Linked DNA regions of Homo sapiens: region 1 is linked to region 2. Evidence: promoter capture Hi-C in 16 types of primary human blood cells and fetal thymus (Javierre and others, 2016). All regions are on one chromosome and are shown on one strand. The core of a region is centred on a gene start or on the middle of the fragment in contact, and the rest is flanking DNA. Distances in the headings are between cores, read along the strand shown. Region 1 holds the start of MCM3 (minichromosome maintenance complex component 3). Region 2 holds the start of CD2AP (CD2 associated protein).

Evidence for each region. Contacts are between HindIII fragments. The CHiCAGO score rates a contact against its expected background, and 5 or more counts as called.
Region 1: a contact is called between the fragment with the promoter of MCM3 here and the fragment with the promoter of CD2AP in region 2, in 3 of 17 cell types (total CD8 T cells, naive CD8 T cells and non-activated CD4 T cells). The highest score is 8.8, in total CD8 T cells.

The regions. Positions count from the first base shown.
Region 1 is chr6:52,281,413-52,286,820 of GRCh38, forward strand. MCM3 (minichromosome maintenance complex component 3) reads right to left here and starts at 3,330. Exons shown (of 17, transcript NM_002388.6): 1 at 3,185-3,330; 2 at 1,882-1,994; 3 at 1,241-1,449; 4 at 633-763. The coding sequence starts at 3,262. RefSeq lists enhancers at 3,208-3,287, 3,608-3,807. The HindIII fragment of the contact is 4,216 bases long and covers 1-3,454 here.
Region 2 is chr6:47,474,161-47,480,153 of GRCh38, forward strand. It overlaps CD2AP (CD2 associated protein), which reads left to right and starts at 3,629. Exons shown (of 18, transcript NM_012120.3): 1 at 3,629-4,088. The coding sequence starts at 4,085. CD2AP-DT (CD2AP divergent transcript) reads right to left here and starts at 3,912. Exons shown (of 1, transcript NR_187257.1): 1 at 3,083-3,912. RefSeq lists a silencer at 3,391-3,900 and an enhancer at 4,187-4,913. The HindIII fragment of the contact is 1,754 bases long and covers 2,860-4,613 here.

The sequences.
Region 1 (5,408 bases), core at 2,080-4,579, 4.8 Mb after region 2:
TGTCTGTAATCTCAATACTTTGGAAGATGGAAGCAGGAGGATCACTTGAGGCCACGACTTCCAGTCCAGCCTGGGCAACATAGCGAGACCCTGTCTCTAGAAAAAAGTGAAAAAAAAAATTAGCGGACCTGGTGGTGCATGCCTATAATCCCAGGTACTCAGGAGGCTAAGGTGAGAAGATTCGTTGAGTCCAGGAGTTTCAGGCTGCAGTGTTCTATAATGGCACCACTGCACTCCAGCCTGAGAGAGACAGATCCCGTCTCTAAAAAAAAAAATAAGAATTGTGAAGCCAGGTGGCGTAGCACATGCCTGCAATCCCAACTACTTGGGAGGATCACTTGAGCCCCGGAGTTTGCAAATTTAGTGCACCATGACTGCACCTGCAAATACCCACTGCACTCCAACTTAGGCAACATAGGAGAACCTCATCTTTAAAAATAAATAAATAAATAAATAAGAATTGTGGGCTTTTCATATTAAACTCTGGCCTGCAATCAATCTTTCCTTTGGATTAATCCTTATTTTTCACCCTTTACAGAAAAAAGACTTCAGATATTACACAATTCCTTGCCTTAAAACAGGTATCTTTGATTCCAACCTCCAAGACAGCTCAACTGATTTATCCCCCTTACCTTGGTAGGATAGACAGAGCTGGAGGGAAAGGCCACCAGGGTGGTGAGATCAGAATAACGTCGCTCTATGGTCTTCTTAGTAGCAGGACAGTAGTGGACACTGCGGACGACTTTGGGACGAACTAGAGAACCTAGGGATGGAAAATGTGCATATATAAACTCACCCAACTAGACGATGATACAGGTGGAACCCAAACATATGCAAGCCTATAATGACTCCAAATACTGTGTTTTTTTGACTAGGTTACGATATTTCAATATTACCTTTTATTCACTTTTTTATTTATATATAGACCACCACCATATCCATGTAAAATTTTAAGTACCACCAATCCCAACTAATAAATAGGTGGAGTTAGAGGTTGGAATTAGAGATTGCCAGGAACCAAGACTCCTCCAGCTCTCAGCAGAATTCATCATTCTACTAATACATGTGATTACTCAAGGTCCCCCAATCATTGTACACACTGAGCCCTCCAAGTTTTACCACGTAATTCCAATGCTCCACCTCTTTGAAGCCACAAGCTACCCAGATCTACTTTGCCTCTCCTGCTTTCCCCATCTCCCTGTCTATTCATTTCCTAAGCGGCCCCCTTTAACCCACTTACATTTAGTGACAATGCCCTCCACACAGACCACACAGCTGAGGAAGCAGGAGGTAAGAGTCCGCGGGGAGACGTGCTTGGAGCCAAAGCTGCCTTCCAGTCCTACGTAGAACTCCTCATACTGCTTGGCATAGGTAGCATCAATGGAGGCCACAAAATCCTTTAAGGCCCGCTGGAAGGCAACCAGCTCCTCAAAGGCATTGTTCAGAAGCCTGTACATAAGCAAGAGAAAGAAAAATTAGACTGGGCAGAACTCAAAAAAATGGATCCTCAAAACAGCAGACATTCTTAGATCATTAAAAACAATGAGAAAATCCAGCTTCTGCTTTCTCCTATAAGTCTCAGTAAAACACCATCCTATAAGACTCAGTAAAATACCAGAACTAAGGACCAACTTCACCTCAACTTATCAAAGATATAAAAATGATATTCAGCTAAACATTGGAAGGAGGGGCATTTGGGAGGAAAATGCCAACCACCCACTTTTTGAAAAAAAAAAAAAAAAAAATAGGTGCAGGTGAGCTACGAGGGCTTGTAGATCAATCCTGTTTCATACAAGTCCTCTCCTGAGAGGCTGTTCCAATCTGGCCAAGAGGGAAGGGAGCCATTCTCACTGACAGCCAGTATATCCCCTTGCCTCTCACCGGTTAGCCCTCTTCTCGTTTTTCCTGCGCAGGTCATTCACATTGACAATCAGCCGGTATTGGTTGTCACTGATCAGCTCCCGAACTTTGCTCTGATAAATTCCCTGGTCTTCCTGCAAAACAGCCACCACATATCACCATAGCCACAAATTTAAAAACAATGTTTCTAAACAGAAGTAGTTCTCATAGCCAGATAGCTAAGTCAATCTCTGCAGCAGAGCTGAATCCCCAGTAAGTATGTGCTCATCAATTTCTCCCTTTCATTCACTGTTTTTAGATTCGAAATAACACCCTAAGAGGGGACTATAAGAATTATAATGACTTCCTCAAGGTCCATGCTGTTATTCCCATCATCATGGACAACTTTTCTGCATGCTGTAATTTCTGTCTTTAGTGGAGAATTAAAATGAGCTCATGAGAAGTCTAAATGGACAGTAAGTGCAAACTTTGTTAAAATGTTAAGTTAAACCTAGCAATGTGAATGTTAAAGGTAACAACGTGAATAGATGGATATGTTGTTTCACTGTAGTAATCATTTCACCATGTATATCAAAACATGTGCACTTCAAATATATACAATAAAAATGTAAATAAAACAGACTCTTAATAGTCACATTAAAATGGCTTTTCATTTAAGAATTATGTAAAAAGTAATATTTTTTCCAATCATCTCTATAATACGGAAAGGGTTCTCATACCCCGACCTAAAGGAATAGAGAATCTCAGCTATTTGGTCACATCATCAACCCTTCAAGATGGTTTTTTCAACATTCTATGGCTTTAAGTCTTGGGTTGCACATAAAATCCCCTTGGCCTGCACACAAAACACTTTTTATCTGCATCTTAGTTGGTATTGAAAAAGAATGCAGCCGAATTATGGAGTCTTTTCCTCCAGGTAAAACGTCAGTCCCTAAAATCTGAGCACTCTGCAACGCGGCTGGTCACTATAGCCCTAGGGCAGCCCCTCCCCCACAGTCTCCTCAAATCAAGAGAGAGCAGTGAAATGCAAAAGGCCGAGGTGGGCTTTGCCAATCTGCTTGCACTTAATGGGAACCTGTCGCCTTTTGCGCGCCCGGACCATCGCTTGTACTTAAGAGAAAGCTGGCTTCCTAAGAGTTCACTTATCGAACACAAACTAGCGAGTCCGGCGTTGAGAAGTTACAAGATTGGGGCTGGAGGCTCGGGCCCGGCAGGCTCCGCTGCGGCACACGGTCTGGAGGTCTGGCGGGCCTCTGGCTTCCCGGCCGGGCCGCGTCCGCAGGGGCTCCGAGCGCTAGAGCCCGCGCGCCGGCGCCTCCCTCACCTCGTCGTCCAGGAAGTCCAGGTAATCTCTCTGAGCCTCCCGCAGCTCCACATCGTCCAGCACCACGGTACCCGCCATGCCCGCTGCCAAAGAACTACCTCCACCAAAGTCGCGTGGAGGTTCCCAGGATGACTCCACCCCGGCGCGAAAACTTCCGAACTCTTCCCGCCACCAAAGGTTACCTCGAGGAAGAGGCGGGGACCTTGGGAGCATATAAGCATTATGATTGGCTGAGTTCTCTGAGGTCGGACTAGCGACTGTCCAATCAAAAGCTTCTTCTTCTTCGGGTTTTCCGCTGCGCGCCCCGCGGTGGCGGGAAACGTACCATCCGGGATTCTCTGTTCCTCCCCTCCCTCCGCCTCACTCACTGACGAGCAAACTGACCAATAGGGCTGAGAGGAGGCTCACAGAGGCTGGTCATTGAGCAGCTGGAGGGGACAGGCTGGCGAGAGGGAAAGCATTGCGTTCTGGGAGTTGTAGTGTTCTCCCTCCTTTCCGGATGTTTTTGCAGGGTTTTTCAAGCTGCAGAACTTTTGACCCGATGCAACGACCAAATTCAGAGGATGGTGCTTTATAACGCAGGGAGATGAAAACATAAAAGCAAATCATTTTTAAGATATATCCAAATCAGAACTGCCCTCCAGTGGCATCCTAGTGTAAAAGTGGATTTTGAGAATCTATAGGATAGAATATAGAACTACAGTACCTTAGGGAAAGATTAGTTAAAAACCCATTTGCTATCTGATACCGTTGCCTGACGAACTCCATAAAGACATCGCCGCAGAGAAGGATGAAGTGAAAAAAAAAATCTGTGTTTACCCTGCCCCCTAGAGACTTCATCGTGTGTTATACAAATTTTGGAAACCGTTACTACTCCATCTTACTTAATAACAGGTAAATTAAAGGCTTTCTGGTCTTATAAAAAGATCACAAGATCCTTTTAAGTAACTTAGCTTACTGAACGATCAGCTCAAGAGGGGAAAAAGTGTTTCACGTCACTTTGATTAAATATCAATCAGTAACTAACAGCAAATCTGAAACCATAATGACTAAAAGATCATCGCACGTCCAAATTTGTATGTTTGTTTTCAGTCCGTCGTGGTTGGCTTTTTCTTATATTTCTAGTTTTATTTTGAGATATAATGTATATACAGTAAAATGCACAAATCTTAAGTGTACAGCTCAGTGAATTTTTACCTGTGCTTACACCCATGTAACCACTCTGCACAATAAAGAGCAAGCCCATTGCCCCAGCATGTGTTTTTAATTTTACTGAACAAGAAGCTGAAATACTGGATTGCCCAACATCAGACATTTGATAATTCTTTATCTGAAATTTCAGCCAACTATTAGCTTATGTTTTAAAGTCTTCAGGACTCACTATGTACTGATAAATATTCTAAGAATAATCTGCCTAAACAAAATATATAGGCCATCTATTTGTGTGGGTATATGTATTTCTAGTTATTATTCAGTTTATAGTTACTGTATGTTTTGTGCCATCCTAGTGGGCAGATAAATCGATCCTTAGCCAAAGCAAAAAGGCTGTCATTTGACTGCTTGCTTTTATGTTTATTAACGGGCAAAAAAAAAAGAAAATTCTAGAATAAAGATACTGTTTGCCGTTATATAGCAAGAGGTAATTACTGATTTATTAAGACTTTTTACTCATAACTCTTATTTTATGAACTTATTGGACAGAGTACTGAGATATCCTCTGCTCTGGAAACAATTTGAAATTAACACTAAAAGAACCGGGAAGCTTAGTTCAAACTAGCAAAGAAGTCGAGTCATTTGTAGTAGAAAGTCCAAAAGAGTGGAAATCTGAAAACCACATCTTTGATTCTCACACTTTTTTCTGGGCTTGTTTCCTTATATACAGTATAAGATGAAGAAACTGAATTAGAATATCTCTGATAATCTGTCTTACTCTAACATTCCATGAGCTAATGGCAAATTTGGAAACTATGTAAAGACAATTCTATTTAATGAATTAATCATGCCATGGTCTTTGATAAAGACTTGATTTGTCCCAATATAATCATCTTCAGCTGTGAAGGACACACCGCTATTTAATTGGTGTTTCTCCCTTCTTTCATTAGGGCATGAAATCTTTAAGCAGAGGAAATGTATTTCCTTTGTTATCCCCGACACCTGCAAACTGCCCAAAATCAATCAGGTTGTTGCTACAGAAAAATTAGGGGCATTTGTACATATCTCATAA
Region 2 (5,993 bases), core at 2,379-4,878:
GAGCAGGGGGATTTTTCAGCTTCAATGATCTCACAGTATAGGCATTCTGATTGAGGTTATTATTTCCTACAATTGTTTTCTAAAGAATGATTTTTAAAATGCAGATTATACATTGATGTAATTTGGGCTTAAGTTTACAGTAAATTAGCCAGGCCAAAACAAGGTAGCAGTAAGAAAACTTCCCAGGAAACCTAGTACTTTTGAATGAGAATAAAGAAAAAATAATTAGTCACAAGATTTTAGCTAAATGAGTGCTTTAAAAATAATATAATTTAGTTAACACTTATTTTTCTTTAGCATAATCTTCTTGGTTATAATAGTTTTTACCAAAAGGAAAGAAGGCAGATGCTTTTTTAAAATATAGATATCTTCAGATAAATTCCTAAGAAAACTTCAGGAAGAAATCATGGCAGTTTAGCATGAATTACGTTGGTCTGAAATTGTGTCATTCACACAGAACTGTAGTGCTCTCCTTGATATCAGATCAACATGTTTAGTACTTGGCAGAAAAAAAGAAAGTGAATGATTAGAGTGGTGTTAGTCCATTTGTACTGGAATACAAAGAAGAATAAGGACAGATGGACAGAAACAAACCTAATCCAGTATAAAGGTAACAATAAAATAAAGGGAAAAGTAAAAGATAATTTGTTTTTAGATTAAAGGAATTTAAATTTAATATATGTGGTAAGTAGAAATTATCTTCTCACCATATTTTCTCTCATTCAACTAATAATTATTGCCAGGGAACGCAATGTTTTGAGCTGCAGACGGTGGTAGCCATATAAAAACGTATAAAACATACTGCCATACCTTGAAGGCCTCTTATAGCTGAGAAGGTAAGATTTAAAGGATGAAAAGAGCTTAAAGGAATAATTAATAACTAATATTTGCATAGCATTCAAAAGTTTAGAAGGTATTTTTACATACCATTTTGTAAGTTTAAAAGTAAATTGCTAGATTTCATTCTTCTGTTAGAATTTCCTTTGGCTTTGTCTTTGGAAAACAACATTAAATTTGGGATTGCGATTACTTCTTAGATTTACTTCAGTTTTCTCAACCATTCTTAGGGGTTCTATTCCCTGATCCTTCCAATTTCTATGATTTGTCATCTCATCATTACCTCAATGGATAATGCCTCTGAATTTGCAAAGTGAATTTAACTTTTAAACTTGTAAAATACGTACATTAATTATGGCAATAACTGATGCTAGAATTTTTTTTTTTTTTTTTTTTGAGACAGGGTCTCACTCTGTCATCCAGGCTGGGTGGAGTGCAGTGGCAGGATCACAGTTCACTGCAGCCTCGACGGCCCTGGACTCAGGTGATCCTCTCACTTCCGCCTCCCAAGTAGTTGAGACCGCAGGCCTGTGCCACCATACCTGGGCTAATTTTTGTATTTTTTTTTTTTTTTTTTTTGTAGAGATGGAGTCTTGCTATGTTGCCCAGGCTGGTCTCAAACTCCTGGGTTCAAGTGCTCCTCCTCCCTTGGCCTCCCAAATTGCTGGGATTACAAGTGTGAAGATCCTGGAATTTCTAGGACATAAATGATTGTAAATGTTTTATCTTGTTGTCAGATCATGTGACCTGACTTCTCAGAAAATATCTACCTTATCTGTGGCCTCCACTTCCTTATCATTCAATTGATAAAACCTTTAATCTGAATTTTCTATTATATATATATTCTGAATATGTAGTTATATATTATATATTCTATTATATATATTCTGAAATTATATTTTCAAAGATGCCCTTATTATCAAATCTGATAGTCTTTATTCCCCCTTCTGTTTTACTTAACTTCTTTTCCATTCTATTCATTGGCCTTTCTTCTTTAAATATTAAGGATTCTAGAGACCTAGAAATTTAGTCTCTAGAAACTTAAGGGCTCTGGGCCTTGAATTTACTACCTATGTATGTGCTTCCAATAGCTTATATTTTTGTCTCCTTTCATGAATCCTTCTTAGCCCATCACCAGCCTCATTCTTCCAAATCGTAAATGGCCTTCCTTATGGGCTGCTTGAGCCACACACATTTCTTAAAGGCTCAGAAATACTCTGTTTGCATATCCACTTCCATTCCTCAGTTCTAGGACTCCTCCAGACTGAATTATTGCCTTCCCCAAGCTTTCGTTCAACTCATACCTTCTCTTTACAGCTTGCTTTGCCCACAGTAATTTATTTTCCTTTAAATTCTCAAGCATTTGACCCTCACTACCTCATACTGTTAATTAACTTTGTGTTCGTATCTCACCCCCCTAGAAGAATGCAAAATCTCTGAGGATTAGCGCTGTACTTTAGCTTTTTATTTTTTTGCTTGGTAGGGGACAACGAACATAATGCTGAACACATATTTGTTACCTAAAAAAGGCACATGTTCCATGATGTCAATGTAATCTTGTTTAGGTGAGTATATTCAACTTTTTTCTTTTATCCTTTTTGGCTGCTGTTTGTGAGTTTGATCATTCTTGTTATAAAATTACCACATGTAACCTTTTGAGAAGCATTAGAAGAATTAAAAGATGGCAAAAGCAGGCCTATAGGAAATAGTGGTAATGGATACGTCCAAGGTTACTACTATGGGCCACTGTGCTCTGCATTGCAAGATTTGTTTGAACATACTCAAGAAATTGAAGTTCAGACAGGTTAATTTATCCAAGGTCCCACAAAAAGTAAATGGCTGTGCTGAGTTTCAAGGACCCATGTCTGCCTGGATCCAAAGGGCAAGTCAGTTTCAGTGCTGGATGACTGAGAATTACAAAATTTCTTGAAAAAGCACTAGGCACAATAGTTGGCGTTCAACAAACGCTCACACACACATCTGCCCTGGAATTGGGTCTACTTAAACAGAAGGGGGAAAAAAAGCTTGCTGAAATAATTATACTTCTTCGTAACTACCAAGCTCATGTTTGACTGACTATAGTAATCCTATGCCCTCCTTCACATTGACGCTAGAAAAAATGCCTGGCAGTATTTCAAATCATGATGCCTATTTTTCTCTCGATCAAGTAACAACTCAAATTATACTTTAAAAAGAAAAAAAGCAAATTATAAAGTTGCATTCAGCTGACAAGAGACTAAAGGAATCTGTGAAACAGAATTTATTTGATGCCTAGGTTTCTCCCTCACCCGACGAAGACCAAATGCTGCTGATCCGTAAGTAACTTCGCAAGGTAAACTGAGGGGCCTGGCAGCATCTGGGCCTCCCTTAAAGGTCGAAATCAAGTGCGCTCGCCCTCCTTCTGTCCGCCTTTTCCCTTTAAGGTCCTCGAGGCTGCTTCGCTGCAGAAAGTAACTCCGCGTCGCCGCCGCGGAAAGTGGGGCAACTTTGCCTATCAGCAGAAACCTTTTGATCCATCTGAGGCGACAAACCAGACCAAACGCCCGCCCAAGCTGTTCCGAGCCTCCGGGGGGAGAGCGAGCCCAAGCTCCTCTGCACCGCTTCCTCATCCGCTCGCTGCACCTGGACGCGGTCGGCGCGCGACCCCCGGCCGTGACGTCACCGCACCTGGCAGCAGCCGTGGGGACCGGGAGAGAGCCCGAACGCGACGGGGCGGGGTGGGGCGGGGAGAACGAGGGCGTTCTCGCGAGATTTGCCTCCTCCCGGTCCCAGCTCCCCGCACCTTCTCGGCCTCTGTCTGGGTCCCCACCTTAGTCTACGGTGTCGCCTTTTCTAACTGCGAGTGCTAAGGAAGAGGCGAGGGGCGGGCTCCGAGGCTAGGCGGGCGCTCGGGGTTGGAGCCGAGGGTCTGGGCAAACCGGTGGGTCCCTCCCCACTGCGGGAGCGGCCAGGGTGGGAAAACCGCGGTCGGGCGGGCGGGGTAGGGCCCTCCCGCCGCCGTGGCTCCTGGGGAGGCCAGGGGTGAGGAGCTGTCGCCGCCTTTGCCTCTGCCTCGAGGGCCGCGCTGAAGAGACTGGTAGGAGAGCGCCGCGGGCGGATGGAGGCGACTCTTCGCCCCGCCTGAGCTCAGGAGGGGCTAGCGCGGAGCGCGGGTCCCGCCTCCAGCCGCGGGAGCGGCCGCGCGAGCCACCACTGGAGGAGGAGGAGGAGGAGCGGACGTCGGCTTCTCCCCGCGGGAGCCCCCAGCATGGGTAAGAGACTCGGGCGCTTCCCGCCGCCCGTCCGGACCTTCCAGACCCGGGGAGGCTGTGCCCTTTCTCGGCCTTCTGGGGAGGCGACTGCGGTCAGCCCCTGAGCGGCAGCACCCCACCCTCTCCATTCTCCCCACCGCCCCTTCTTGCCCTGCCTTCCACCTTGCTCTTCTCACGGAGAAACTGGTGGGAGAGCTCGCGGGTGCTTTCCCTCGCTCTCCCTTCTCCGCCTCTTTTCCTGTTCACCAGAAAGGTGCGGGATGGGGGGCGGGGGCGCCTGGCCACCTCTGCTAACCCCTTGCCCAGCTAAAATCAGACCTGACCTTCCTTCCCTTCCTCATCCCCTTGCTTCCCTCCCCCTCCTCGTGGGATGGGGGAGGGCGATCGAAAAACTTGATAAAGTAGCACTTTCAACTTCTTTATTTTCTGCGAGGCTTTGAATACGTTTAAGGAGAGAGATAAATTTGTTCAAAAACTTTTTTTTTTTCCTGCTGAAACTCGCAAGGGGTGCCTCAAGGACAGGAAAGCTTGAGTATTTGTTTTACTCGGGTTCTACCTAGGCAAGTGTGTTGGCACCTAAGCATTCAGTGTGCTCCCGAGGACTGGGTTTGGACTTCAGTGTTGGATCCTTTGAGGAGCAGTTTCCTGTTTGGAGTTAGACTTCCTTGCCGGAGGAGAGAAAAATACAAGGCCTTATATGTTATTTACTATGTGCTTTATAGTTTTGTTTGAAGTTAGAGAAGGCAGAATGTGTGGCAGTCCGGGTTGAAAAGGAGTTTTGTTAAGTGGTGTAACAATTTCTTTTGATAACAAAGTTCGGTGTGGGCTAGGCATTAAACTAACTCCCTCAATCCTTTAAAAATTAAAAGCAACTTAAGAATAGCTTACAAAAAACAAAACACCCTGTGTCTCTATAAGGCAGAACGTGTTCTGTAAGAGTAAACCCAAGTTTGATTTTTGTAGAGCAAATCAGGAGGACCCTATCACTTTTTGCAGTTGAGAGTTGGTACTGCTTCATATCAACAAACGATCACCGAAATGAATAATTCATGTAATTAACAAATGATTTAGAAGCAGGACGAATACAGACTACTGCTGATGTGGCACCCTCTGTCCACACTTTGCTTTGTGGGGGATGTTTTGAGCATATTGTTTATAGACACTCGCCTAGCTATCCTCTGTTTTCTTAGACTTTTCTAATTTTATGTTCCCTTCTCCACCTCCCTCCTTTCAGGTAACTTTCATACTCAAAAGTGCTCTTGAGCTCAAAAACAGTGAAATAAAACATTTGCTATTTGGAATTTTCAAATGAATTATTTTATAATTGATTAGTTGAGCTTGCAGGGCAATTGTGGGCATATTCTTTTAAGTATGAAATTATAAAATCACTTTAACTGCTTTGGATTAAGATAATACTAAAGTTAATTACACAGTTCTTTTCTGTCTTAAATGGGATGCAGAATAAAATTAAACTACTTTGGATGACCTGGGGATGCAGTCTTGTTTTGCATATAGGGCTTTTGAGCTAAATTCTAAATAATATTTGTTCGCATTTTGAAATTATTTAAATACTTTTTTTTTTTGCTTTGCTTTTGGATGTGCTTGTAACTGATTAGTGTCCCCCATCATCTTTCCTTTTCTAATTTTTTTTTAGAAGTGTGGAAATCATATTCAGGTTTGTGATTCTGCATAGGGGAAAAATCAGTAGGCCGTTACTTAGTGTGTGAGGTCGTCTCTGGAGAAAAGTAAATGTGTACCAATACTTGGACATTGGAATACCTATTTTGATTGTCCAGAGGCTTTTTCTTTGTGATTTATTTGTTGTGTTCTGTTTAGGTGAGTTTTCATATAGACTTGGATATCAATGTTGGTATACTCTCGACTACTTAGAATGTGTTTTGAAGG